7 separate regions of the Homo sapiens genome follow, and all the other regions are linked to region 6. The links are contacts of gene promoters, found by promoter capture Hi-C in blood cells and fetal thymus (Javierre and others, 2016). All regions are on one chromosome and are shown on one strand. Each heading gives the region's core, a stretch centred on a gene start or on the middle of the fragment in contact. The rest is flanking DNA. Distances are from core to core; before and after follow the strand shown. Region 1 overlaps GALNT2 (polypeptide N-acetylgalactosaminyltransferase 2). Region 2 overlaps PGBD5 (piggyBac transposable element derived 5). Region 3 overlaps GALNT2 (polypeptide N-acetylgalactosaminyltransferase 2). Region 4 has its middle 140 kb from the start of PGBD5. Region 5 holds the start of RHOU (ras homolog family member U). Region 6 holds the start of ABCB10 (ATP binding cassette subfamily B member 10). Region 7 has its middle 71 kb from the start of RHOU.

The links. Contacts are between HindIII fragments. The CHiCAGO score rates a contact against its expected background, and 5 or more counts as called.
Region 1: a contact is called between a fragment that was not itself captured here and the fragment with the promoter of ABCB10 in region 6, in 1 of 17 cell types (endothelial precursors). The highest score is 5.5, in endothelial precursors.
Region 2: a fragment that was not itself captured here is called in contact with the fragment with the promoter of ABCB10 in region 6 in 3 of 17 cell types (naive B cells, endothelial precursors and fetal thymus); the score reaches 5.9 in naive B cells.
Region 3: a contact is called between a fragment that was not itself captured here and the fragment with the promoter of ABCB10 in region 6, in 4 of 17 cell types (M2 macrophages, megakaryocytes, endothelial precursors and 1 more). The highest score is 7.4, in M2 macrophages.
Region 4: a contact is called between a fragment that was not itself captured here and the fragment with the promoter of ABCB10 in region 6, in 5 of 17 cell types (fetal thymus, endothelial precursors, megakaryocytes and 2 more). The highest score is 7.3, in fetal thymus.
Region 5: the fragment with the promoter of RHOU here is called in contact with the fragment with the promoter of ABCB10 in region 6 in 13 of 17 cell types (fetal thymus, total CD4 T cells, neutrophils and 10 more); the score reaches 18.5 in fetal thymus.
Region 7: a contact is called between a fragment that was not itself captured here and the fragment with the promoter of ABCB10 in region 6, in 4 of 17 cell types (fetal thymus, naive CD8 T cells, non-activated CD4 T cells and 1 more). The highest score is 9.1, in fetal thymus.

What each region holds. Positions count from the first base shown.
Region 1 is chr1:230,219,793-230,224,132 of GRCh38, reverse strand. The region is part of intron 3 of GALNT2 (polypeptide N-acetylgalactosaminyltransferase 2); the gene reads right to left. Among named protein-coding and RNA genes, the nearest start is that of GALNT2, 150 kb to the right of the region's middle. The HindIII fragment of the contact is 2,818 bases long and covers 269-3,086 here.
Region 2 is chr1:230,318,839-230,322,797 of GRCh38, reverse strand. PGBD5 (piggyBac transposable element derived 5) reads left to right here. Exons shown (of 7, transcript NM_001258311.2): 7 at 1-3,959. Among named protein-coding and RNA genes, the nearest start is that of PGBD5, 110 kb to the left of the region's middle. The HindIII fragment of the contact is 2,111 bases long and covers 285-2,395 here.
Region 3 is chr1:230,236,064-230,239,879 of GRCh38, reverse strand. It overlaps GALNT2 (polypeptide N-acetylgalactosaminyltransferase 2), which reads right to left. Exons shown (of 16, transcript NM_004481.5): 4 at 3,768-3,816; 5 at 3,460-3,527; 6 at 3,155-3,220. Among named protein-coding and RNA genes, the nearest start is that of GALNT2, 170 kb to the right of the region's middle. The HindIII fragment of the contact is 3,191 bases long and covers 1-2,984 here.
Region 4 is chr1:230,285,240-230,289,362 of GRCh38, reverse strand. No RefSeq gene overlaps it. Among named protein-coding and RNA genes, the nearest start is that of PGBD5, 140 kb to the left of the region's middle. RefSeq lists enhancers at 731-1,230, 2,415-2,914. The HindIII fragment of the contact is 4,168 bases long and covers 191-4,123 here.
Region 5 is chr1:228,733,629-228,737,944 of GRCh38, reverse strand. RHOU (ras homolog family member U) reads right to left here and starts at 2,466. Exons shown (of 3, transcript NM_021205.6): 1 at 1,941-2,466; 2 at 214-272. The coding sequence starts at 2,202. The HindIII fragment of the contact is 4,915 bases long and covers 1-3,652 here.
Region 6 is chr1:229,556,637-229,560,537 of GRCh38, reverse strand. ABCB10 (ATP binding cassette subfamily B member 10) reads left to right here and starts at 1,831. Exons shown (of 13, transcript NM_012089.3): 1 at 1,831-2,402. The coding sequence starts at 1,886. RefSeq lists an enhancer at 1,052-1,241 and silencers at 1,412-2,111, 2,172-2,621. The HindIII fragment of the contact is 4,467 bases long and covers 1-3,468 here.
Region 7 is chr1:228,662,234-228,666,265 of GRCh38, reverse strand. It overlaps a transcript of RHOU not described here. Among named protein-coding and RNA genes, the nearest start is that of RHOU, 71 kb to the left of the region's middle. The HindIII fragment of the contact is 596 bases long and covers 1,310-1,905 here.

The sequences.
Region 1 (4,340 bases), core at 428-2,927, 660 kb before region 6:
CCTCTTGGATACGTGAGTTCTGGTTTCCAAGCTGAGGGTTTAGTTTTTACTTCCATTGTTCCATGAAGAGATGTGCTTTCATTTTTATCTGCTCTGCCTGTCTCAAAGTGGTGAATCCTTTAGAGCACCCTTCTTAGAGGTTATTCAGGCAGTTGGTTTTCTTTCCTACCCTACTCTTGCAGTTCTCCCCACAAAAGCTGGGCCAGATAATGGAGTCTGTGGGACCCCTGAGCAGTTCTGATTGTCCCAAGTGGACAGGAGAAAAGCTTAAGTTCTGTGGAGGGTGACATTTTAGGACACCACTCTTTTCAGATACACTGAATTGCTCTGTTTTGGCCTGTGGTTAAAAAGACGAACTTTTCGGCTAGGCACAGTGGCTCACGCCTACAATCCCAGCACTTTGGGAGGCCGAGGCAGGAGGATCACCTGAGGTCAGGAGTTCAAGACCAGCCTGGCCAATATGGCGAAACCCTGTCTCTACTAAAAATACAAAAATTTACCCGGTGTGATGGCGGGTGCCTGTAGTCCCAGCTACTCGGGAGGCTGAGGCAGGAGAGAATCGCTTGAACCTGGGAGGCGGAGGCTGCAGTAAGCCGAGATCACACCACTGTACTCCAGCCTGGGTGACAGAGTAAGACTCCATCTCAAAAAAAGTAAATGAATAAAATTAAAAAAAAAATGGCTAAGAGTCTATTAAACTTTAGACCATCAGGTTGGCTTAAAAATCAAAATATATGTGTTACAAAAGATAAACCTAAGACAAAATGGCATCCAAAAAAGAAAAAAAATCAGTAAGATACAAAAATGTATCAAGAGTAAGTGAAATAAAGTAGGAGATTAACATTTATGCAAAGCAAAATGTATGGCAAAAAAGGAAAACTTGTTCAAGGACAGCCTGGGCAACACAGTGAGAGCCCATCTCTATTAAAAAAAAAAAAAAAGAAAAGAAAAACAAATAAAGTGGGGTAATTTTATGTCAATAAGGGTATAATCCATGAATATATATCTTCTAAGCCCCTCATGCTTAGAAATAAGCAGAAACTCCTAGCACTGTAATGTTGAGTTTCAAATGCTTTTATCAATAACAAAGGTTTTGAATGTAATCGATCAGGTTGGTTGAACATGTATATTTGAATTTGGAAATGAGTATAGATGTTACTAGCTTTTAAAAAATACCCATCAAATATTCATAGAAATGAGAAGTAAAGATTGCAGCCTCTGGGGGCAGGCTGTTGTTTAGACCTCACCACAGCCTGGTTAATGGGGCAAGTTCTGTTTCTCTAACTATCAAATCTTAGTAACAATAACAACAGTACCTATGCCTCATAGGGTTGCTGTGAGAATTAAATGAGTAATGTGTGTAAATTGCTTAGCATAGCACCTGGAACGAAAATCTCAATTAAAGGTAGCTACATCTCATGCCCAAAGTAAAACCCTCCATATATGCAAAATAGTAAAATTATAAAGTTGTAATGTCTGACTCCACAGCAATAAAGTCAGGAGAAAAAAATCTCCAATGACCTAAGTTTAAAAAGATAAAAAGAAAAAAAAATCAGTTTCTTACGATTTTGAAACTCTTTCCTAAATAAGCAACGTACCAAAAAAGAAACCAAAAACAGAATTCCAGAGTGGTGAGAAATAATAATAGCGGTCATTTACAAGTAGGTTTAAAAATAACCAAAATTATCACACTATATTTCGTATTATGAGACTCAGCCAAAGCTGCACTCAGAAACCAATTAAGTAGACATAAAGTAAACATTCAACATTCAACTCTCATGGGGCAGGGGGAGTGCAGAGGAAAGCAGAGGCAACAGGCAGACATGAATGCATTAAAGAGAAAAGCAGGGAGGCCGAGGCGGGCGGATCACGAGGTCAGGAGATCGAGACCATTCTGGCTAACATGGTGAAACCCCGTCTCTACTAAAAATACAAAAAATTAGCCGGGCGTGGTGGTGGACGCCTGTAGTCCCAGCTACTCAGGAGGCTGAGACAGGAGAATGGCGTGAACCCGGCAGGCAGAGCTTGCAGTGAGCTGAGATCGCACCACTGCACTCCAGCCTGGGTGACAGAGCAAGACTCTGTCTCAAAAAAAAAAAAAGAGAAAAGCAGTGAAATGTATATAAAATCCCAGCACTTGATGTCAAGGATGAAAAGAAGACAGAAGTAAGGAGGAGAAACCAGAGACACATCACTGGCATTTTTAAAGAAGAAAAAAATGAAAAGTTTATAATTAATAAAGATTTAAGTGCATATACATATAACACTATGCCAATAAATTTGAAAATCCAAGGGAAATTTATTCTTCTGGGAAGATATAAATCAAATTAATTCAAGTAAAGCATAGAAAAACTGAACACATGTCAATATTCATGGAAGAATTTTAAAAGGTTATCAAAGGATTACTGTAATGAAAATAAAAATAGCTCTAAGTTTAGATGACTTTGAAAGGTGAGCTCCAAGAAACAAATAACTCCTTTACAAATCAGTTTTTCTGAAGCATCTAAAGAAATTTAGGAATTTGTTCTAAATTCATTTTACAAAGTTAACATAATCTTGAAGCCAAAGCTAGATGAAGGAAGGAAGACGGGAGAGAGGAGGAAAAGAAGGCAGGCAGGCTGGCTGGCCACAGACACTTTCAGCTATGAATCTTCATTCAAAACCTAAAATAAAGCAGTAGCCAAACTCAGCAATATATTGAGTAAATTCTGGTACATTTTCAGAACCAAATAACACACTGTCATCTCAAATAGCATCTCCTTTTAAATGAGTAAGCAAGGAGGTTATTCGAAAATATTCATCCCAACGTTAGCATTAAAAAGGAAAAGAATCTAGCAGTCCATTACCAGAGAGCTAGCTAAATAAACATAAAATGGGATATATACAGCTTTTATAAGGGAAAGTTATATATTTAACAGTCCTAGAAAATATTTCCTATGTATTACTGAATGAAAAAAAAGTAGGCAGGCAAACAGCAAATACAGTGTCATTTTACTGTCATTGTATTTATAGAAAATGACATACATCGAACATCAGAGGGTATGAGACAAATTAGGAAGGATGTTCACCAGAGACAATGTGAAGCTTTCAGACTTTTCTTCCTGTGTGCAACAAACACGTATCTACTTTTAAAAAGCTTTTTCTTTAAAGAAAAAACCAGTTTTGAGTAATTCGGTGTATTTAAAGAAAGGAGAACTTGGGGAGTTCATGATACAAGCTTGCTAACAGCCCACTGCGTAGACCATTAGTATCTAGGTGAAACACAGACCAATTCAGAGATTTTAGCTAATATTTGGCCAAGATAAGGTTTGCCAACAATAGAAGGCAGATCATTAGCATCACCGTCACATCATACCATGATTTCCTTAGGGCGGGTCTGATTAAGCCCAAGAATGGACCAACCCTAACAAAAGTACCTTCGTTTGATGGCACCACCATGCGCTGGCCTCCAGGGGATGCCTCTTTGCAGACAGGATTCTACAGTCAACTGGGTTAACTGAGTGATTCCATAAAAGCAGCTACCGAGAGAGATCTAGTTCAGCCCACCCAGCACGTGGTGACAGTGAGGGAGTGGCAAAGCCTACCAGGAGCTACGCTGGGTGCTAACCAATCTCAAGGGCAACCTGTGCACCAGAGGCCCTGCAGGATATCAAGCTGAAGACCATCCCGGGAGTTTCAACTCCCTTTATGCCCTGCTCCCCTCATCTACAGCATAGCAACCCAAAAGTAGGCTCTGGTGCCTCCGGAGTGGGCTGTTTATCATGTGGCAGCAGAATCAATGGTATTCTTCTTTATTTACCTAGCGAGGGTCCATAATTCCTAATCTTTGATTCCAACATTAAAAAAAAAAACAAAAACACCTTGGAAAAAAATCTGTATCATATTTGGTGGCAAAGCCTGCCATGATCTGAATTATGTGGCAGTAAAACCTGACCTGATGACTGTTCTCCTGATTTATCCCACTTGGTATGCATATTCATGTTCTGCTGCAAAAACATTAGTGTGTTTGAGTACAAGGTACTGTCTCAAGATTAAAAACATTATTTCACAAATTGTGTATATGTCATTAATAGCTCTCTAGATATTTTTTTAACAATCTGAATTCCCTAAGAATTTAAGTGAGGAATTAGAGAACTGTCTAATTACAGATAGTCTCTGTCCCAAAGCAACTTACGAAATACCTGGAGAAATCATGCACAGCTACAAAACAAGAAAGCCCAGGCACAGAGGCTCTGGTTGGGGGTGGCAAGGTCTCAAGCAAGGGCAGCAATCCCATGGCAGGGGGCCAGTCAGAAGCAGTTCTTTGGAAGAATCTAGGCAAATTGTGTTTTAAGGGACAC
Region 2 (3,959 bases), core at 91-2,590, 760 kb before region 6:
CAGGGGAGAGAGGGAAATGCCAAAAACTTGGAGTGAAGGATGATGCTATTTTTTATTTTTAAATATATCTTCAGGTTATTTTCTTACTGTTGCTTCAGATCTAATGTAAAAGGCAGATGTCCCCTCCTCTCCACCCCCGACGCTGACCCCGGCCTCAGTCACGGCTCTTTGCATGATCACAGTTCTGTGTTCTGGCCTGTGGCAGGGCCGGGAAGGGCCGCTGGCTTCCGAACAGACGTGGTTGCTCTCCACGAGGCGCATGGGGAGCCCGCGGGCCCTAAGCTTTGTCGCAGATGTCATCATTGGCAGAATTACTTGTCTTGAAAAATAAGTAGCATTGCTGAAACACACAACCGAATTCTCTACGATGGCCATTTGCTCATTGTCTTTCCTCTGTGTGTAGTGAGTGACCCTGGCAGTGTTTGCCTGCTCAGAGTGGCCCCTCAGAACAACAGGGCTGGCCTTGGAAAAACCCCAAAACAGGACTGTGGTGACAACTCTGGTCAGGTGTGATTTGACATGAGGGCCGGAGGCGGTTGCTGACGGCAGGACTGGAGAGGCTGCGTGCCCGGCACTGGCAGCGAGGCTCGTGTGTCCCCCAGGCAGATCTGGGCACTTTCCCAACCCAGGTTTATGCGTCTCCAGGGAAGCCTCGGTGCCAGAGTGGTGGGCAGATCTGACCATCCCCACAGACCAGAAACAAGGAATTTCTGGGATTACCCAGTCCCCCTTCAACCCAGTTGATGTAACCACCTCATTTTTTACAAATACAGAATCTATTCTACTCAGGCTATGGGCCTCGTCCTCACTCAGTTATTGCGAGTGTTGCTGTCCGCATGCTCCGGGCCCCACGTGGCTCCTGTGCTCTAGATCATGGTGACTCCCCCGCCCTGTGGTTGGAATCGATGCCACGGATTGCAGGCCAAATTTCAGATCGTGTTTCCAAACACCCTTGCTGTGCCCTTTAATGGGATTGAAAGCACTTTTACCACATGGAGAAATATATTTTTAATTTGTGATGCTTTTCTACAAGGTCCACTATTTCTGAGTTTAATGTGTTTCCAACACTTAAGGAGACTCTAATGAAAGCTGATGAATTTTCTTTTCTGTCCAAACAAGTAAAATAAAAATAAAAGTCTATTTAGATGTTGATTCTCCGTTAATACGTGAATTCGTTTAAAAGGTCAGGGAACAGGCGGGGTGCGGTGGCTCATGCCTGTAATCCCAGCACTTTTGGAGGCTGAAGCGGGCGGATCGCTTGAGTCCAGGAGTTTGAGACCAGCATTGGCAACATGGCGAAAGCCCATTTCTACAAAAAATACAAGAATTAGGTGTGGTGGCACATGCCTGCAGTCCCAGCTACTTGGGAGGCTGAGGTGGGAGGATCTCTTGAGCCACTGCACTCCAGCCTGGGTGACAGAGCCAGACCCTGTATCAAGAAAAAAAACAAGGTGAAGGAACAAAAATACAGGCTACTCTTTTAAATACTTGATTTTTTTTGTTATATAATCTGGTGTGTATGATATTAACTGTTCTTGGTGTCTCAAACCACTGAGCAGTTTAAAAAAGAAATGTTTTTGAGTTTGGCTAATAGAAATACCTCTTGATGTTGCAGTTGTATGAGTGCAGTTGTATTTGAGGTGCCTGTTTCATTGAAGACACTAGCAGGCCTGCCTTCCGGCCTGGTGGTTTTCCCTCTTTTCTTCTAGTTTGTGTCGTGTGTCATTCCAGATGAGCAGGAAGAGGTGCTGTTCTGACAGGCAGTGGGTGGCTGCATTCCCCAGTCATGAGAGAATAATTGTAACATTGTAACACTCTGTTTCTAAAATGGCAGCCACCTGTTGTCTGATACATGATGGGAAAAGGCAGCTGTTGAGCCGGGTCTAGGGGAGGCTTCAGTGGCCACTTCAGGTCTCTGGAGGAATGCTGTTGACTGAGAAGAGTTTCTCTTCTCCATCCAGAAGGACAGAATAGCATGTAGGACGGACTGACAGAACCTCCAGGGACCTGGACCTTGCCTTAGAGATGTGATTCAAAGTGGCTTTTTGGAGTGACTCTAGTTGAAGTGCATCTGGTTCCAGTATCTCCCTGGGTTCAACAGCCCTCAGGTTGATTCTTGATTGGCTTTGGAGTAGCTGGCCATCCCTGGGGATGAGGAAAGAGCATCGTAAGTGGTCTTATGACAGAGGGAGCCAGCATGGCCCTGGCTGAGTATATGGGGCTGGCAAGCACCACTGCACACATGGCAAGTGAGAGCCCATTCCACTCAGATCCAGCCACTAAGCCAAGCCGATCCCCTGAGGGATGTCTCTGCTGCAGGCTCTGGAAAAAAAAGATGGAGCAATGAGCTTCCCAGCCTTATGCAAAACAAAACACCCACAAAAACTTCCAAGCTTCTCCAAAGAGAATCTGCATTTCCCTGCAACTCACAGGGAATTGAACCTGCACTGAGCTTCACGGAGTTTATGAGACCTTCCCATTACTGCAGTTGTGTTGAGCGTCCCGTGAGGTCCTTCTTAGGCAAATTTAACTTCATTGAGTGAATGTCTGTTTCTGTTTGGTGCCTACTTGATCAGGTTCCATATTCGACTTTCATTGTCTTTCCCCACACTCTGCTCCCTAAAGAGCCTCGATTTTGGCCAGGTGCGGTGGCTCACACCTGTAATCCCAGCACTTTGGGAGGCCGAGGCAGGCGGATCACAAGGCCAGGAGATTGAGACCAGCCTGGCCAATATGGTGAAACCCCATCTCTACTAAAAATACAAAAATTAGCTGGGTGTGGTGGTGGACACCTGTAGTCCCAGCTACTCGGGAGGCTAAGCAGGAGAATATCTTGAATCCGGGAAGCAGAGGCTGCAGTGAGCCAAGATCGCACCACTGCACTCCAGCCTGGGTGACAGAGCGAGACTCCAACCCCCACCCCGCCACAAAAAAAAAAAAAAAAAAAAAGCCTCGAGTTTGAACAACGTCTTCCCGTGGTCCATGGGACATTATACTAGGGACATCTTTCAAAAGTCAGGCAAGTCATATGGAAAAGTCTTGGTGGCTGGGTCATTCTGAGCAAACACATCCAGTACTGACTAAATCAGATGAGGCTTGGTCACCAAAATTGAGTTAACTCTGCTGCGTGCAAGAAGCAAGAAGATTGCAGGTCCCCAGGACAGAGCCTGGAAGGTTCTGAATCCTTCCTGTGTGGCCCGTGTGTCACCATCCTCCCCAGGGACCCAGGCTCAGCCCCCCCAACAGTGAGGGGGGGTCACCAAGCATCAGGCTGAGAGGAAGCAGGGCAAACCCGGGAGGGCCATGGGGCCTTGCAACTACGCAAGCCTCACACATTCTCCTCCAGTCTGCATTCATGGCAAAAAAAAAACATTTCCCCACTTGCCTGGGATTGGGGCGAGAACAAGTCAACGACACTGATGGGGGAGAAAGGTGACCTTGGGTGTGGTACCTCCCAGATCTGTCTCCTGCATCCTCGCAGGTGCTGTGTTTGAAAGGTATGACAGCGGTGGCTAACAGGCAGGCACACTTCCAGGCGGCTTGGGGTGGCCCTTCTGCCCCAGAGCCTTACTCCTCACAGGGATCCCTGTGGGTTAGGCATGGACTGTCACCACGCCCAGATGGAGTGGTGCAATGGTTCGCCCAGGTAAGCAGACCCGGGTTTGCCTGACGCAGGAGGCCGCGTCCTAACTGCTGTGGGCACTGGCTGTCCTGATTCATCACGAGGACGGGGGATTTTATCCCTGACTTACCTGACAACTTTGTGGGGGATTTTCTCCTTTCCATATCCAATCCTCTCTGCTGATCCGAATACTGAAAACAATCATTATGAGATCCGGGACATCACCCTCCCCCTGGGTCCTTTTCTTGTCCTAGATGGAGATGGGTGTTTTGGAGCTTAACAACTACTGAAGCTGAAGTTAGCCTGGTAGGGAGCCACTATTCTGGGGGGCATTTGG
Region 3 (3,816 bases), core at 140-2,639, 680 kb before region 6:
AAGTTAGAGCTGTATGTTGTAATTCTCAGGGCAACTGTGCATACATGAAAAGTATTGCTGAAAAGCTACAAGAATAATTCAAATGGAATACTAAAAAAATCACTGAATCCAAAAGAAGGCAAGAAAGCAGGAACACAGTTACAAAAAGCAAAATGCACATGGTACAAATAGAGAAGAAACAGCCGAAGAGCAGACCCAAACCTAGTCACACCAATGATTACGCCACATGTAAATGAACTACCCTCAATCTGGGTGGGCACAATCTAATCAGCTGCCAGCACGGCCAGAATAAAAGCAGACAGAAGGATGTAGAGAGACTGGACTGGCTTGGTCTCCCCCGGCCTACATCTTTCTTCCACGCTGGATGCTTCCTGCCCTTGAACATTGGACTCCAAGTTCTTCAGCTTTGGGACTATTGGACATTCAACCACTGACTGAAGGCTGAACTGTCAGCTTCCCCACTTTTGAGGTTTTGGGACTTGGACTGGCTTCCCTGCTCCTCGGCTGCAGATGGCCTATTGTGGGGCTTCACCTTGTGATTGTGTGAGTCAATATTCCTTAATAAACTCCTGTTTATATATACATCTATCCTATTAGTTCTGTCCTTTTGGAGAATCCTAATACAAAAGCCAAATATTGGTTCTTTTAAAAAATGAACAGCGTCGATGAACAGCAGACAGATAAAGAAAATAAGAAGATATAAATTACCAAAATCAATAAAATAGTAATACTAATCCGACAAACAGTAAAAAAAGAGACAATATCATAAGCAACTTTGAGCCAATAAATATAAAAACGTTGATAAAATACAAAATTTCTTGAAACAGACACAAAAAGAAACAGCAGATCTGAATACGCCTATATCCATTAAAGAGATTGAATTAGTTATCAAAAATCTTTCCATAAAGAAAATTCTTGGTCCAGACTGGCTAATTCTATTAAACATTTAAAAAAGAAATAATTAAAATATTATACAAACTCTTTTAGAAAATAAAATAGAAGGGCACACTTTCCATCTTGTTTTATAAGGCTAGTAAACCATAATGCCAAAACTGGAAAAATACATTTTAAGAAAATTACAGACCAATGTTTCCCATGAACACAGGTATAAAAATCCTTAACAAAAATATATTAAAAGGATACTGTATCATGACCAACTGGGGCTTATGCTAGGAATGCAAAGCTGGTTTAACATCTGAAAATCAACCAATGTATTTCACCATATTAACAGATTAAAAAAAGAAATACCACTTGACTATCTCCACAAATGCAGAGAAAAAGATTTATCTCATTATTAACATGGTTTTGGTCCTACTATTGTCATTAAATAGCTGTAAGGGCCTTGAGAAAGCCACCTAGCCTCTTTAGATTTAGTATTTCCATCTGTAAAATGAAAGTACTAGGCTCTCAACTTCCACTGTACATCGGCATCATTTTAGCAGCTTTTAAAAATGCAGCTGCCCACACCCCACCCAGAGAAATCCAGAAATTTCTATTTAATTGTGAATGAGGGCAAGACATGGTCCTAAATTCCCTAGGTGCTTCTAATAAATTGCTAGGTTAAGAATCAATGCACAATAAAATCCACAGAAGAATGATCCTAAGACTGCTTTCACTACCATAATATTTTAGGCAATTAATTTACTTTGTCATCTAGTAGCATCACTACAAGCACTTTGTGTGTATGCTTACATAGATGGGATCTTATACACACACATGGGTACATATATACATGAGTGTGTGTGCAAGTGTGCACATATTTTCTCATTCAATTGTTACAGACTTCAGCTGTTCCATATAGGCTTTCCATAATCTGGCTTCTCCCAACCCACCCTTCTCATGCCTTCCCCGAAACAACGTATCAGCACGGGTTCAACCGAAATGAACATTCTAGCGGAAAGTTAATACTGAGAAGCATTGTTCTGATTTCTAAGCAGTTTAAAGACAAAGACACTGTTAGATAAGGCTCATAAGTGATTTACAGTGCCAACACTATCTCTCTTTCCTCCTTCCCCACTTCTCTTTTTTTTTTTTTTTAAAGCCTGTGCCAGGTGATGGGGTAGGATGGCAGATACTTTGGGTTTAAATTCATAAAGTTATTTTGAAGGTGTTTAGGGGGCAGCAAATTGCCCCCTTTTTGGTTTATTCCAGGCTTGGTGGACTGATGTGAGTCTGGCAAACAGCTTGTTTAGAAGGCAAGGCTTATCCCACTGTTTATGTATCTTGAATGTCTAGGTTGATGACCCTAGTTGGTTAAAATATGATGCTGTTCTAACAGGCTCAATCACTGTGTTGGCCAATAAGATTCCTGGTAAGAAAAACTTCACTCCTTGACTCCAGCTGGAGTGCATATGTAATGAGAAGAAAGAGTTTTACACTGATGAAGGAATACAATCACCACCCCTGGATCAACAGTCAGACTTAAATAGCAAATGTGGCATGGGTTCCAAAGCTCTGTGATTTTCCTATACTGAAAGATTTCTCCCAACCATGGAGGAGCCTAACAATTCAGTCTTCAGGGTCTCTAACAGCACTGACACACTGGATGTTAATTACATTGTGATTGGAGCTTCCTTCCCAGACACTCCAGTGTACTACTTTCCTCCTTTACAGCCTCTCTTCTAACTGCCAATAAAAGAGTCCTCATGAGCTCAGCTCCAGCACAGATAAGACTGACAGAAGGTTCCGAGGTTGGCATTTGCAAAATCGCATGAGCATATAATTGCAGTACTGTCTCCCCATTTTGGATGGTTCACCTTCAGCAGGCTGTCAAACTTGAATCCCGGTTATTTTATCAGATGCCTGGAGCATGGAGTCATTCAACTTCTTATTGCTAAATCTTTGTTTTTCTTCTAAACTTTTGTATTCAAGGGACTGATAAGACTTCCTAGGTTGTGAAAGAAAGAAGCCAATTTTCTAAATACATAAATGAAAATGTAATTTGATCCTGCTCTAATATACTAATAATTTCAATTAGTCAAGCTTTTAATGTCTTTCCTGTGTTTGCTGGGAGAAGTCTCCCAAGCGGCTCTGGTAGAGGGAGACAGAAAAAAGCTAGACAATTAATTGCTCTTTGAGCTAAAGCACTTCTTTATGTTATTACAGGAAAAGTCAGAATTCAACTGTCTTGGCGCTGAATTAAGAAGAATCTTACCTTCTCGTCGATCATTTCTAAGAACTCGCACTTTCTCAATTTTCCCCAAGAGAGCCCCGTCCTCAGCTAGGAAAAGAAAAGAAGCAGAGCATTTTGAACCTGGAGTTCATAAAGGGCTTTGCATTCAACCATAGTATTCTCAATCATCTAAGGGCCGATTATCTCCTTGGGGCATCACAGAGGCACCTCTTCTTTCTGTGGATCTGATTTCTGGCTTGTTCACGCCTCATTAGCACCCCCACTACAGGAAGACTGGTGCCCAGAGAAGAGCCAGACACAGGGATAAAATCAGTGTCAGTACTCACGATCATTGCTGTAGTCATCCACCAAGATGATTTCTTTTATGAGATGGGGCGGGCTTTTCTTAAGCACGCTAAGAAAAGACAAGAAGATAAAGTTTATAGGTCTTTTAGGGGTATAAACTTTTAGCCTGGGGTAGAAAATTCTCATATGTTGGTCCTAACCCTTGGTTGGAGGAGCTACACACTGCACCCTGTGCTGAGCAGTCAGGAGACCCTGTCTGCAGCCCCCACTGACAGCCCTGGTCTGACTGTGCCTGGGACACAGCTAATGTCTTAACACCCCTGACAGGTAATGCATCTCCTGGCCTCACCTGACCACGGTCCTGAGTAGGGCCGACCTGGCTTCATTGTGAAACGTGA
Region 4 (4,123 bases), core at 1,025-3,524, 730 kb before region 6:
GAGCTTTGCAAACACAGCTGACCTTAGCTCCAGGGACTGCAGGATTGCATTGTTGTTGTTTCACTCCCAAGGTAATTGGAATATGCAGCAAGGTTTGAGAAGCACAAGTGTCATACAAAGAACAGGGCTTTGAAGTTTGAGAGCTGGGTTCAAATTCCTGTTCTGACATGACTCACATATGCCTTAAGCTTTCTAAGTCCTACTTGGTCCGTCTGTTGAAAGGTGGAAGTGAGCCCTGAATGAGAAGCTGGCATCATTTCTGGAGCATGGCAGGTGCCCAGTGAACATTAGCTCTCATCTTCTAAGCTCCCAGCACAAGCATGGCCCCCCAGCTGATGCCAGAACACATGTTGGGAGTGTCGGAAGGAGGACCCAGGTGAGGGGAGCATGTCATGGGATGGGACCTTAGAAGCCCTGTCCAGTGCTGAAAGCTGACCATATGGACACACAAGTGTGTACCCTGTGCCGTGAGGTTTGGAGCTGGCAGGAGGTGCAGCTGAGCCATGCATGTGGCGTGTGGGAATTGCGAGGGCTCTGGGCTTGTATGAGTCAGCTTGGAGCTGCCAGAACAAAACAGTGCAGGCTCGGGGGGGCTTGCACAACGCACAGCCCCGGATGCCGGAAGTCCAGGATCAAGGTGTCTGCAGGGTTGGTTGCTCCTGAAGCCTCTCCATGGCGTGGGACGGCTGTCTTCTCCCTGCGTCCACACGTGGCCGCCCCTTTGTGTGGGTCTGTGTCATCATCTCTTATAAGCACAGCAGTCAGACTGGATCAGGGCCATCCTCATGACCTGCCCACCTCCCTAAGACCCCACCTCCTAATATCATTGCCTTGGGGGTTAGGATTTCAATCTATGAATTTTGGGGTGGAGGCACACAGACATTGACATCTCCTGAATTGGCCTCTGGTTGGCCCCTTGTGTGATGAAATGGGTGCCGCAGTGAAGCTCATGAGCAGGGCTGGTCCTGGTTGGTGTGCAGTTACCTGCGGGCCAAATTCTACATCTTCAGCTCTACAATCGTGGGTTTCTCTCAAACATATGAAGTGCAGACAGCCTCAAAATCCCCAGTGCAGGGGGCTGGGGGAGTGGGAGGGAAACAGTGGCTACCCATGCCACCCCTTAGCTCGGCCCTCTGCCCCGGAGCCAGAAGTTTCCGGAGAGTTCTCTGTCCCCTCGCTGTCCCATCAGCCTCAGCTTCTCAGGTCCGTCCCAGACATCCCCACCTGAACCAGTGGCCACACACCCTGTCCTCCCCTGCTCCAGCCCCGTGTTCCTCACATGAGGAGGATGCTCCTCACCTGCTGGCATCGGACCAACTTCCTTGTTGCCAAAAATCCAGGTACCTCTTCCCAGAGCTCACTGTGCTCTGGCTCGGGCCGTGGGGCAGCCTCGTTTGTCCCGCACCTTCCTTCCTTTCCTTCCAGCTGCCTCTGCCCAGCCAGCAGTGTCTTGCTCGGTCCTTTCCAGCCTGTGTGTGGATCTGTGTTTCCAGGCCCCTGTCCTCCCTCTCTCTGCCGTCCCCCTCTCTGGTGGTCTCTGACGTCACTTCTAGGCTGTAAAAATGCAGGGCTGACACCTCCACCCTTATTTCCCGGGTCCCCGTGCCATCCCACATTCCCTGAAGACTTGGCAGATGTGGAAATCCCATTGGCTCCCCTGCTCCAGTCCCTTTCCTTCTGGACGGCCCACAGACCTGCCGGGAAAGCTGGGGAGGCTCATGGGCCGGGGCTGCAGCTCTGGGCTGGCCTAGATCAGAGCGCAAATTAAAAAAAATTTTTTTTGAGACAGGGTCTTGCTCCAGGCTGGAGTACAGTGGTGCAATTATGGCTCACTGCAGCCTCAAACTCCTGGGCTCAAGCCATCCCGAGTAGCCCAACCACAGGGGTGCATCACCATGCCCAGCTTATTATTATTATTATTTTGTAGAGATGGGAGTCTCACTATGTTGCCCAGGCTGGTCTCAGACTCCTGGACTCAAGCAATCCTCCTGCCTTGGCCTCCTCAAGTGCTGGGATTGCAGGTGGAGCCACTGCATGGCCAGGAGGCACTTTTCGTGCTTCCTCTCTGATCTTGACAATGATTTTCCAGGGTGAACAGAAGGGTTCCCATTTCACAGAGCAGGCTCAGTGACATCCCATGGTGACACAGGTGGTGGGTGGCAGGATGCAGCGGTGGAGCCCATCTCTCCCACCCCTGAGTCTCCTGACTCCTCCCCTCCAGCCCTCATGAGCCGGCGGGCGGAGGCGACTCCAGCTTTCCCTGTTAGCAACGGGAGTCACTGCCCCTCCCCTGGCTACGACCAAAGGCCCATTTCACTTCCCATCACCTCCTGTCCCCGTGTCCCCACCGGACCAGGAAGAGGACAGTCACAGCCTGGGTGCTTAACTTGGCACTGTGTGGGTAAATTAGGCAAATGACTTAGCTGATCAGAGCCTCAGTTTCCCCAGGGGTAAAATGGGGTAACGTCTTTGTGTAGAGATGAGAGGTTATTTGAAGGGTGGGACACCCATTCCAGGGCCTGAGAAGCCGCACCCAGTGCCACCTCCTCTGTTCGCCCCTCTTCCTTTCCCTCAAGTGTTTCTTTTCACTCCTGGACTTCACTCCTGTGTGGCACCCGACAGTGGTGGCTATGCATTTACATGCTCTGTCCCAGGATGGGCTCCTTCCCATCCTACCCGCCCTCCTGCCGCAGACCTGGCAGGCCCAGATGAGGCATCAGGCAGCACCCACTCTGCATATCCTGAGCTGGAGTCCAGGCCAAGCAGTCTCCGAATGACAGTTTCGTGGCTGAGGCCACGCAGCGGCGCAGAAACGCCTCCGTCTTTCCACCTCAAGAGGCACTTTGTGAAGGTCCTTGCATTCAGTACTCTGGCTCCTTGCTTGCCGAGCAGTCTTCTGCCCACTTCCTTCCCATGCGGCTTCAATAGGGAGAGAAGCTGACCAGCAAAATCCCACGCCCCTTGGCCCACGTGTCACAGATCAATGGGTGGGCACTGTGAGGACAGCGTGGCTTCCCTAGAGCCTGAGTGGCTCAGCCTCACCCATCTGCCAGGGTACCCTCCAGCTGTGATTTCTCAATATAAATGCAAATCAGGTGACCGACTGTGAGTCTCTTGGCTCCAGCAGCGCCTGTCCTCAAGGGCGGTCTGTTCCCGTTTTTGCTCTTGGAATCAGGATTAGAGCTCTGGGCAGCTGCCTGGGCGCTGGAGAACACCCCTTTGACCCTGCAGCAGGGAGATGACAAAGTCACGGAGGCTCCAGGACAGTGGGGACCATGCATCTCACCGACATGGAGATGCTTAGAATTTAGGGGGTCCAGCAACTTAGATGGGAAAAATGATATTGTTATTTTCACAACCTCCAACTGAAATGGAACACTCTACAACGAATGTCGACAACAAAATAGGAACTTTGTCACTAATTAAAAAATCACAGATATTTTCATCACATTAATTATTGTAGCTTTTTCAAAACATTGTTTATGCTCATCACTACTTTAAATTATGGCAGCAATTAGACAGGAAGACTTGTTATTTAATGCATTAAGAAGCACATATTAGGAAAATATTTTGATAACTGTGTCTTGGCATAATTAGACTTCTTTATAATCCCATGTAATCAATGTGTTTTATTCATTTGAACACCTTCTGAGAGGAGGCCCTGAGTTGATGGCTCACGCCAAAGGAGTCCATGGCATCAACAGGGTGAAGGGGCTCAACAGGGTCTGCGACTGCCTCTCTTAGGATGAAGGAATCCTGAGACCACGCTGCCACCCCTGTCCATCTGCTGCTGCCAGAATTCTTCCAGTGATGGCAAGTGTGGTGGGCACTGGGCTGCTCAATGAGTAGTCATCCCTTCCCTGTCCTCCTTGCCAGCAAAACCCACTTCCATGACATGGGAGGAGGTGGGAGGTGACTGCTTCCCGGCTTCCCAAGGACCCGGCTCTGGGCAGTGCGACCCGGGAAGACTAAGAGGTGGGGAGTCTAAGGGGTGGGGAGTCTAAGAGGTGGGGAGACTAAGGGGTGGGGAGACTAAGGGGTGGGGTGGTCACTGGCAAAGGTGCATCTTCCCTAAGTCAAAAAACAAAGATGCACAGGAGGCAGCACGCTCCAGGTCTGTTCA
Region 5 (4,316 bases), core at 1,217-3,716, 820 kb after region 6:
CCTGCTTTATTAGTTTGGAGGTATCTTCCTCTGCTTCCTGCCGGCCAATAACCTGGCCCCTGCCCACCCTCAGAGAAGGGCCAACAGCAGGGGTGGGTCCACTTCATGAGGCTTTAGAATGACCCAGTTACTGACTGAGGGAATCAAAGGTTATTTGGAAATCTTTAAAAGGCTGTTTCCTTTCCCAGCACTGAGCTGTAACGTGATACTGACCTGTCCGGCAGTGTCACAGAGTTGGAGTCTCACGGGCCGCCCATCCACAGACACCACCGCTTAAAAACAAAACCAAAATGACAATCAGGAGGTGTCTTTTAACCCCTTTCGGAATACTAATAGTTTTAGCTTTCACTATCATTCTCACTCCAAACCCCTTTGCTCCTATTTTAGGTCCTCTAATGAATTAAAGACTAGCCAAAAACAAGGAGGCCCTGTGGAGGCATTTTTGTATACAAACCCACGGCTGGCAAGTCACTCCATTACCGTGAACCAGGCAGCAAATCCCTGAACGCTTTGATGGTGACCCTAAAAAGGCCTATGCTTTTCTCCCAGTCCTGGAAGATTTATTTTCCTGTCACACTTGTTTCAAAGGACCTAAAAACAACACTGGGGGTAAATGGGAAGCAACCCTGCAGTTTTAAATCAGTGGAAAACCTCACAAATAATTCTGTTTTCCCTTGGGAAAGGTTCCCCAACTTCAGGGTTTATCATACAATTCTAGTGTGTTTTGAGAACATGTGCAAACACAGGCTGCCCGCATTGTCCTGTTTAAGAAATGAGGGCACTCCTTATCTCTATGTCAGGTCAAAAGGAGGATTAAAAAAGAAAAAAGAAAGCCATGGCCCCCTTTCCACTGGGATCCGGGGACTCGGGGAGTGTGGAGAGGCCTGCAGCAGGACATGTTGTGGAGGTTTCTATTTTAATTAAGCAGTCAGTTTTGTCTCTTTCTACACAACTTTCTAATTGTTTCTAAATATTTATACTAGTCAGCTGCAGGGGTGGGGTGGGGGGAGGGGAAGAAACAATACCCTGCGGTGGGAACCCACCAGTACAGCACCCATTTCTCTAAGGTACCTTTGGGATGAAAGGAAGGTCAGAGAAGCAATTTTTTTTTAAAGAAGCAAGACAGTTAAGTGTTTCATACTAGTTTCTGTGAATTTTAACTTTTTCTTAAATTTCAAAAAGACCTGAATAGCAAGATAGAGAATTCCTTTCTCTTTGTATCTACCAAGGGAAATGGCATCGCACCCGGTACATAGGAGCTTTAAGTAGCTTAAAGGGATCCTGAAAAGATACCAACAATCAGAATCCGAGCCCATGTGGGCAGGGAAGGTGGTGGGGCTCAGAAGAAAGAAATGGTGTTTACTCTTCAGGTTTCATCCAAACCTAAGCCTTCACGAGGGCCGCTCGCGCTTTTTCACTAAATCAAGTGTTTTCCCGGCGTCTCCGCGGCTCTTTAAAGCGGAGACGCCCCTTGTGAGCTGAGCCGCCTAAAAGCAAAGGAGCGACGCTCAGGTAAAGGCACCTGCGCGTCACCTTCTGATTGAAACTCTGCAGCGGCGCCAGCGACGTCGCCCTCAGGAAACTTTGCTCTATGCAACAAACTGACCGGGCACCCTGAACTCAACCTGTTTCACTCCTACTTATCTGTTGCTTAAATTGTGAGATTTTTTTTTTTTTTTTTTTTGGCAAGGCTCTGACTGCCGCTCCGCCCTCCTCTCTCCAAGCCCACTCCGCCGTGGTCCTTTCGTGTTAGCTCCGCGCTTGCCCGGTCCCTGAGACTCAGGAAACGTCCTGCACTCCTCATTTGTCCGGCTTCCCAGCTGGAGCCGCGCCCGGGGCCCTGCAGCCCCCTTGGGAACCTCGCGACCCTCGCGCCACCTTCCTTCCCCTGGGTGGACCGCGGCCACGCGCCCCCGGCCCCGGCCCCCCGGCCAGCTCACCGGAGAAGTTGTCGAAGGCAGTAGGGATGTACTCGGTGGGGTAGCCGTTGGTGGTGTAGCTCACCACCAGGCTCGTCTTGCCCACCGCGCCGTCGCCGACCAGCACGCACTTGACGCCGCGCCCCTCGGCACCCCCCGCACGCCCCCGGCCCCCCGGCTCCCCAGGCCCGCGTCCCCCGCGTCCACCGCGCTCCCGACGCGGCGGCACCGGAGGCGCCTCGCAGCGGTCGGGGAACGCGGGGTCCCCCTGCTGCGGGGGCATCGATCCGCGAGCGCGGGCTTGCGGTCGCGGGCTAGCAGGGCCCGGCCCGACCGCCCCTCCGCCCCGGAGGGTTGCGGTAGGGAGGAGCTGTCACCGACAGCTGCGGGCGCGTCCCCGGCCCTGGAGAGTGGCGGTTCCGGGCCGCACGGCCAGTAGACAAAGGCGGCCAGGGAGGGTCGTGGCTCCGCGCTCCGGCGGCGCCAGCCGCTCTGCCCTGCGCTGTTGGAGGACAGCGGTCCGAGCGCCGTGGATCCCAAGCGCTCTGTCTCCGCCCGGCTTCCCGGCGACACGACGCGTGGGGGGCGGGCAGGCGGGCGGGCTGGCGGGGAGGGAAAAGAGGCGGGTCTGGCCGAGCGGCTCGGTCCCCGCGCCAAGACCACAGCGCCCCCCGCCTGCGCGCCGCGCGCCTGCACCCGCGCCCGAGGCGCCGCCGCGACCAGGCGGGGACTGCGAACACTGGCGCGGGAGGACCTGGAACACACGTTCCGGGGGACCCCGCGCACCCGGTCCGGGAAGCGACGCCCGAAGGAGCCGGGCCAGCCTCCGCAGCCTCCTCCCCAGCTCCCAAGAGGGTGACCACCGCGCGACTGGCCCGGGAGGTTCCGCTTTCTGGCGCCCACGCGAGCCAGGAAGCCTGAGCCGCCTCCTATTCACTCCGTGGAGCCCCCGGCTGGCCACGGCTCCACCCAGGGGGAAAAATGAAGTGTCCTGGAGGCCTGTCCTGCGAATGAGATTGAATTAACAGACAGCTTTTTTCCTTAAGTCTAACTGCAGCTGATCGTGTGATTTTTTCTCATTTTGAAGCAAAAGGATGCCAGCTCCATTGTGAATGCTCCTTTGACTTTGTCTTTCGGCATGCCGTGAACCTTTATACATGTATGCTCCAGAAATTTTTTTATACCCCCAATTCCTTCATTTACTTAAAGGTAATTCGGAGACATTAATATGTCTGAAAAAATATTCCGTTTCCCTTTGATTCATTTCTCTCTCTGCCTTCCTTCTACATGTGGTCAACAGTCTATTCAGAAAAAGGACGCCTCTTAGCCAAGTCAGAATACCAAGAGTCCTGGGGGTGTACAGCGTGGTGTGAGAAGGGCCACATATTATTAATACACATTGATACTAGTGGTAGTAAAAATAACAATAACAAATACTGAACTTTCATAATGTGTCAGATACTGTTGTAAGCACTCTTCAAGAACTAATTCTTTTAATCTTAACATTACTTACAGATGAGAACACCTGAGGCACAGAGATATTAAGTAACGTTTTGGGATTCCACAAGCTAGTAAGTGGCAATGCCAGGATCCAAACCCAAATAGTCTAGCCCCAGAGCCTGAGCTTCTAACCAAAATCCTGGAGGCAAAAATAAGTCAGTATGATAAACGTAATCTTGAACGTATGGCCATGGTCAGAATGCAGAGATGGATTTATCAAGAAGTTAGAAGCTTGAATCCAGGACCCCTGACTTGCAAAGGACACTTTCACATTGGAAGACCTAGCAATGTGTACACGTGGTAATATGTTTCTGTAAATTTTGAAAAAAAAAAAAGTATTTTAATCACCACCAGTTATGTTCACTGTCTTTTTAAACTGTAACTTACCCTCATATTGAGTGACTTTGAAGAGGCCATGAAGATTTTGGGGATCAGCCAAAGAAAGTGAAGTTGGGGAGACCCAAACAGGTTGTTTGGGTGTAATGGGATACAGAATCAGGATGAAGGTGAGATAAGGGGGATGTCAAGGATGCAAAATTTATGACAAATTGAGCATTCAGAGGCAATATCAAAAAACAACAAATTTAGAGGGCCCTTACTCTCAGGGTCAGGCAAGTGCCAATGTTAAGTTTTGAGCCTCAGGTACCTGACTTGCCTCTCCCTCGCCCTGGCTGTGATGACAGGATATATTTATGTGGTTTACAGTTCTCCTATGTAGATATGTTGTTGCTAGCCATCCAGGTATAGGAATGGCTACCACTGACATACCTATGACCCTCTGTGAGAGTCACATTGGTGCCCTTAACTGTCTTACTTTCCCCAACACTAGAAGGGTTCCAGTAGCAAGAGTAGCAGAGCTTGAGATGGGCAGAGCTGGAAGCTAGTCTGGCAATTCTT
Region 6 (3,901 bases), core at 582-3,081:
TGGAGTGCGGTGTGGCACCATCTCAGCTCACTGCAACCTCCGCCTCCCGGGTTCAAGCAATTCTCCTGCCTCAGCCTCCTGCGTAGCTGGGATTACAGGCACGCTCCACCACACCTGGCTAATTTTTGTATTTTTAGTAGGGACGGGGTTTCACCACGTCGGTCAGGCTGGTCTCGAACTCCTGACCTCGTGATTCGCCCGCCTCAGCCTCCCAAAATGTTGGGATTACAGGTGTGAGCCACCGCGCCCGGCCGCTACCTCCTTTTTGAGCCCAACTAAAGAAACATCAAGGATTGATACCCTCCCAGTTGAAGAGAAAGTGACAACTTTAACCCAAATCTCACCTTCCTCTTACTTTCTCTTTCCCATTTTCCAGCTGCCAAACTAAGGGCAGCTGCTGTCAGTTTTTGTAAATAAAGTTTCCAGGGCTGGGATTAGAGCGAGAGAAGAGAGGCAGGATTGTGAAAGGTCAGGAGTGGATACTCAATCAAAATTTTTTATATTTTGTTCATTACGGATTTTTTAAATTAATTTTGATTTTTAAAAATATTGCACTAAAATGTTTATGTTGATTATTGAGGTTTTTTTATTTTGTGAACCCATAAAATTTGCAACTGACAGTACCCTGTCCAGGTCCAGTAAAAATACCTAGGAGTCTACAAAAATCTACCCACGACTCACTGGACCTCAGGTACATATCCCCCCCCGCCCCCATGAAGTCTCCATAAAGTGTCCCAGTGAGTTTTAATGTTCTCTCCTGTCTTTCCATGCACGTGTATTAAGATGCATTGCCTTCTGATTAGTGTTTTCCACTTCGAACAGCGGGAATGCCTCGACCACGCCTGTCTTCAAATTTCTGCTCTAGTTAAGAAACGATCTCAGGCCGGGCACGGTGGCTCACGCCTGCAATCCCAGCACTTTGGGAGGCTGACGCGGGCGGATCACCTGAGGTCAGGAGTTCGAAAAGAGCCTGACCAACATGGTAAAACCCCGTCTCTACTAAAAATACAAAATCAGCCGGGTGTGGTGGCGTATGCCTGTAATCCCAGCTACTTGGGAGGCTGAGAAGGGAGAATCACTTGAACCTGGGAGGCAGAGGTTGCAGTGAGCCGAGATCGTCTCAAGAAAAAAAAAAAAAAGAAAAAAAAGAAACGATCTCTTCCCTTCTCAAAGTTATATACATTTCACTATTCGCCAACCACCTCCTCCACGCCGTCCAGAGCTGAGCTGACACGCAGCGAAGTCCTCTCAGTGGTCCCTCCGCACCTCAGCCCTGTGCTTGGCAGCGAGACGAGTGACAGGGCCGCCCCAGCATGGGTCTCCCGGGCCGCGGACCCGCCCCACGCCGTATCCAGCACGCTGTCCTCCCGCCCCATCTTTGTGCCGGCCATCGTGTGGTCGCGTCTGCGCGCTCCGCCCGGTCTGCCGGCGTGAGAAAGAGCTCGTGTCGTTCCCAAGTTCAGACCAGAGGGGACGGCGAAGCGCGAAAAAGTTCCCTGCGCCCAGTACGCAGGCGCAGCCGTGCTCCTGGGCTTCCCGGGCCTCGTCCCAGCTGGCGCGCCCGGCGCTCCTCCGCCAGCGGGCAGTTGGGGGCGCTGCAGGGAGGGCACCCGAGCGGGTTGGGGGCGCTCGGAAGGGTGGCTTGCAAGGTCCGGGTAGCTGCAGTCCCCGGAGTGGGGCGGAGAGGCGCGGCACCGCGCGGACGAGGATGGGGCGGGGGCGGGCGCAGCCCGAGGGTGCAGGCACGATAAGGCGGGTGACAGCCAGCGGGGAGGGGCGGGCGCCACCGCGTCCACGCCCTTTGCTCGGGGCCGGGCCGGGAGGGTCCTCGGGCTTTGCGCGCGCCTGGCCGGCGGGCTGAGGCGTACGGGTCGCACGCAGCGCCATGCGAGGCCCCCCTGCCTGGCCGCTGCGGCTGCTCGAGCCACCGAGCCCTGCCGAGCCAGGTCGGCTCCTGCCGGTAGCCTGCGTGTGGGCCGCGGCCAGCCGCGTTCCCGGGTCCCTATCGCCGTTCACTGGCCTGAGGCCGGCGCGGCTATGGGGCGCGGGGCCCGCGCTGCTCTGGGGCGTTGGAGCCGCGCGCCGCTGGAGGAGCGGCTGCCGGGGCGGGGGTCCGGGCGCCTCGCGGGGCGTCCTGGGCCTCGCGCGGCTCCTGGGGCTGTGGGCTCGCGGCCCCGGCAGCTGCAGGTGCGGGGCTTTTGCCGGGCCAGGCGCTCCTCGGCTCCCGCGCGCCCGGTTCCCGGGCGGTCCCGCAGCCGCTGCCTGGGCAGGGGACGAGGCCTGGCGGCGCGGGCCGGCGGCGCCTCCCGGGGACAAGGGGCGGCTGCGCCCCGCAGCGGCCGGACTCCCGGAGGCCCGGAAGCTCCTGGGGCTGGCGTACCCTGAGCGCCGGAGGCTGGCAGGTAGGGTCCTCCCCGGCCACTTCCCTCCGCCGGGCCTCTCCTTCTCCACACGCGGGGTCCCGGGGCGCCGAGAGGGACACGGCCGGGCCGCAGAGCGCGTGTCACCGCCGCCTCTCCTGGGCCACTCCTAACCCCGGAGGAGGGAGGGGATCGCTCACCTCAGAGTAGCGTTGTCAAGATTTCGCCTTAGCTGGGGACTCGTTTGCAGATTTTACACTTGTTTTCTTGTTGACACACGTTATATATGTCATTATTGGAATCTTTGGGTCTGTTCCACCACCAACTTAGTGGGAGCATCTGTTTTGGCTTAGGCAGCAAAATGAGCTGGAGGTTTTTCCTTGGAAAAAAAAATTCTAGCCAAAAATATGCCTATTTTGTTATTAGGCGTTTATACTTTTTTTTTTTAACCAAAAACACATTATTTGCTTCAAGCGAGTCTGTCAAGCAGTCACCAATGCTTTCACAGCGGAAAGCAAAACTTTCAGACTTGTCTCTTGTGCAGGAAGTTACAGCACTGTGTTCAACAGGCCACACCAGTGATCTGTTCAGTAATTGAGTAACTTTTTTAAAAGAAGCCAAAATGAATGTTTTTAGAAACAAAATTTAAATAGGACAGTTTTCTATAGCTCCTCATTTTTTAGCCATAATTGGAGGAGTGTTTAGATGCAAGGGCCTTGTAAGATCTAAAATTTTTTCGATTTCTCTAAATCTTCACTCCTTCTATAAACATCTGTTGAGCCCTCATTCTGGACTGGGCCCTGGGTTTACAGTGGCATGCACAAGGAAACATGGTCCTCACTTCTGCTGGGGCTTCTAGGTTAGTGGGGAGAAGCATCTATGAAATATTCGTATGTATAGAGGTAAACCTGCACCTGTGGGCTGTGGAAGGGGGCCTGTGGGGCCTGTGAGGTTGTCAGGTGCAACACCAGAAAAGCATTCTTTGCTGCAAATCCATTGCTTTAGAAAGGACCCTCCTGGGTAGTGATTTGGGATTTAGAGTAGGTTTGCACAGTGGAGGAGAGCAGTTAGGGTGGCGACTTTTCATCTACCAGTTGCTATGAAAGCTTAGGGGGCTGTTGATATCACTCGGGTGTAAAGAGAATTATTTCATTGTTCAGTTGGTTGAGTGTAGATTTTGTTGTAAAATATCTTTTTCTCTTTCCTCTTTTTAAAAACATTGGAGACTAGGAGCTCTCACTGGACTTTGAGCTGCTTGAGACGGGGACTGTGCGATTCATCTTTCTGTCTCTAGTTCTTAGCATGTGCACGGCACAGAGCAGGCGCTCAGAGTGCCTTCAGTGAAGGAATAAATGACCATACCACCAGGCACAGAGTGAGGCCTTTAGAAACCCTGAGCATCATCGGGTGCGCCCACCACTTCTGTATGTGACTCAAAGTAAGTGTAAGGAAATCCAGTTCTGTTTTGTTTCTGAAATACTAGATGTCAGGAAGGGTGTTTAGGTGTCAGGCTTTGGTGGCCTACACGTGCCCAGTCCTCT
Region 7 (4,032 bases), core at 358-2,857, 890 kb after region 6:
CTCTTAGACCAGGCACGGTGGCTCACACCTGTAATCCTAGCACTTGGAAAGGCTAAGGTGGATGGATCACTTGAAGTCAGGAGTTCGATACCAGACTGGCCAACATGGTGAAACCCTGTTTCTACTAAAAATACAAAAAAATTAGCCAGGCATGGTGGTGCACGCCTGCAATCCTAGCTACTTGGGAGGCTCAGGTGGGGGGATCACTTGAACCCGGGAGGCAGAGGTTGCAGTGAGCCGAGATCACACCACTGCACTCCAGCCTTGGTGAGAGCAAGGTTCTGTCAAAAAAAAAAGAACACTTCTAGATGCTGGGGTGAAGAAGGCTTTTGTCCATCTTGTGTTAATTATGACCTTTTTATTCTGTATTTTTGATGCTTTGACATCTTGGGGCCTTGCTGACCCTGGAGGGACTGCTTTCTCCCAGGGTAGAAGGTATTACTATTTGAACCACTAGACTGAGTCAAAATGATCTGTCCTCACCAATGTGGATAGGCATTATTCTTCCAATTCCTTGAAGGTCTCAACAGAACAAAAAGACAGGGGAAGGACAAATTTGCTCTTTATTCTGGAGCTAGGACATCCAACTTCTGCTCTCTGACATCAGAACTGCAGGTTCTCAATCCTGGGACTCTGGGACTCATATTAGTGTTCCCCATCCCACTCTACTCAAAGATATATTACTGTCCCCACTCCACTCAAAGATATATTACTGTTCCCCACTCCACTCTACCAAAGATACCTGATTTGAGTCACTCAGAAGACTAGGTAGGGGTTTATTGAGGGAGCTGGCAACCCATCCCCGACATGTGTGACCCAGCCAGAACCAGAGCAGTAGGAGCCTCACTGCCTTCACCCTAGTGCTGCCACGTAGAGCAGCTAGAGCCTCTCCTGTGGACTCAAGCCTGACAGTGGGAGTTCCCTTGGGAAGGTAGGATCACCTTCACCTCTTTATCTTGGTTTCTTTATCGGTACAATGGAAATGGTAATAATAGTACCTAAATCTTGGGGTTATCATAAAGATTAAAGTAATTAAAGCATGTGAAGTGCTTAGACCATGCCTAGTGCATAGCAGGCACTTTATAATCATTTACTTCAATAAAAACATAGGTCCTGGAGCCAAAGGCTTGACCTTAATTGATATGTGAACCAGGTAAAAGTCACTTAGCCATTCTGAGTTTCAGTTTTCTTATTTGTAAAATGAAAATAAAATAGTACCTATCTTGAAGGGTTTTCATGAAGATTAAATAAGCTAATAGGAAGAAATCACCATAACAGCCTGGCACCACAAATGTTAGTTAATAAAGCTTGGCAAGCCGGGCACGGTGGCTCACACCTGTAATCCCAGCACTTTGGGAGGCCGAGGCGGATGGATCACCTGAGGTCGGTGGATCACCTGAGGTCAGGATTTCGAGACCAAAATGGCCAACATGGTGAAACCCCATCTCTACCAAAATACAAAAAATTAGCCGGTCATGGTGGCAGGCGCCTGTAAACCCAGCTACTCGGGAGGCTGAAGCAGAAGAATTGCTTGAACCTGGGAGACGGAGGTTGCAATGAGCTGAGATTGCGCCATTGCACTCCAGCCTGGGCAACAAGGACAAACCTCTGTCTCAAAATCAATCAATCTTGGCAATGAACACGGGTTCCTCCTGGCAAAGGTTTTGGCTCTGTGGGGTAATGCTGCCCTCTGCCGGACAATTTGGTTTCTTGCTTTGTTTGTTTTAATAAACTGTTGGGTTTTTTCCCAAAGTCCCACCCCACCTAGCAAAAAGGTTAACATTCTTCATAAAGATTATTTTCTCAGAATACGTTTCTGAGAAAATGAGTACAAACATGATTTGTTGATTCGCTATCCGCAAATGGCTTTCCTCATTTGAGGAACAAATGAGCCACTTGGAAGCTTACTTGGGCTGCAATTTTATTTCCAATTTTATCTTTATGAAGAAATCCAGGCCGAGCGCAGCGGCTCACACCTGTAATCCCAACACTTTGGGAGGCCGAGGAGGGCCGATGCCCAGGAGTTCGAGACCAGCCTGGGAAATATGGAGAAACCTCGCCTCTACAAAAACTACAAAAAATTAGCCGAGCCTGGTGGCACACATCTGTAGTCCCAGCTACTCGGTAGGCTGAAGTGGGAGATCACGCGAGCCCGAGAGGTCAAGACTGCAGTGAGCCGTGATAGTGCCACTGCTCTCCAGCCTGGGCGACAGAAGATAAGAAAAGAAGAGAAGGGAAGAGAAAAAAAGGAGAGGGGAGAGGAGGGGAGGGGAGGGGAGGGGAGGGAAGGGGAGGGGAGGGGAGGGGAGAAGAAAAAGAAATCCAGCTATGTTGGCCGGGCGTGGCGGCTCGCGCCTGTAATCCCAGCACTTTGAGAGGCCAAGGCGGGTGGATCACTTGAGGTCAGGAGTTCGGGACCAGCCTGGCCAACATGGTGAAGCCCCGTCTCTACTAAAAATACAAAAATTAGCCAGGTATGGTGTCGCGCGCGCGTAATCCCAGCTACGTGGGAGGCTGAGGCAGGAGAATCGCTTGATCTCGGGAGGCGGAGGTTGCAGTGAGTTGAGATCATGCCACTGCACCCCAGCCTGGGGGACAGAGTGAAATTCCGTCTCAAAAAAAAAAAAAAAAAAAAAAAAAGAAAAGAAAAGAAAAGAAAAGAAAAACAGAAAAGAAAAATAAAAATAAAGAAAAATAATGTCAGCTATGTGTTGAGATATTGCTGCTTAATTTTTTTTAACTTTTCTTTTTTCTTCTTAAACTCAATAGTAAGAATATGCTTAACTTTTCCGATTTTCCTTATTATTGCTTTCCTATGAGTTGAGAATATTGTGATAAGTGCCTAGTCTGGTAATTTGCACACACATTGTATTCTCTTGTTACAGTTACAGTGTGATAAAATAAATAAATGAAAAGTCATAGCATGGCAAAAAGTATAGCACTTGAAACACTGTAGTGTGCTAGTTGCCTCACTGTGGTTTGTGATGTGTCTAAAGCAAGGGGAAATAATGAGAACACCACACAAGGTCTCTGTCCAGACTATTCAACTCTGATCTTTGAATCACAAAAGCAGCCGTAAGATACATAAATGAATGAGTGCAACTGCGCTGTCATAAAACTTTATTCATAACTGTTGAAATTTGAATTTCACATAATTTTCAAATACTACAAAATATCATTCTTTTTATTTTTCTCAATTGTTCACAAAAGTTAAAACCATATACAAAAACAGGCAGCTGACAATTTGGGCACAGAATCTGTAGTTGTGGACCTCTGGTCTAGAGTCATCCACCAAGAGCAGCCAGATCCCGAGGGGACAGAATGGTGATTTAAACAGAAATATCATGGGGACACTATTGCTGCATTCTTTAGACCCTTGAGGGTGTCACTTATCTCTGCCATTCCCCTTGATGCAGCATTTTGTCTTGTTCTCTCTTGACTAGGGATATAGTTTTTTTAATGTGCAGAACATGCAGATTGGTTATATAGGTATACATGTGCCATGTTGGTTTGCTGCATCCATTAGCTCGTCATTTACATTAGGTATTTCTCCTAATGCTATCCCTCCCCCAGCCCCCCACCCTACAACAGGACCCAGTGTGTGGTGTTCCCTGCCCTGTGTCCAACTGTTCTCATTGTTCAGTTCCCACCTATGAGTGAGAACATGCAGTGTTTGGTTTTCTGTCCTCGTGATAGTTTGCTCAGAATGATGGTTTACAGCTTCATCCATGTCCCTGCAAAAGACATGAACTCATCCTTTTTTGTGGCAGCATAGTATTCCATGGTGTATATGTGCCACATTTTCTTAACCCAGTCTATCATTGATGGACATTTGGGTTGGTTCCAAGTCTTTGCTATTGTGAATAGTGCTGCAAATAAACACTCGCGTGCATTTGTCTTAATAGTAGCATGATTTATAATCCTTTGGGTATATACCCAGTAATGGGATCGCTGGGTCAAATGGTATTTCTAGTTCTAGATCCTTGAGGAATCGCCACACTGTCTTCCACAATGGTTGAGCTAGTTTACACT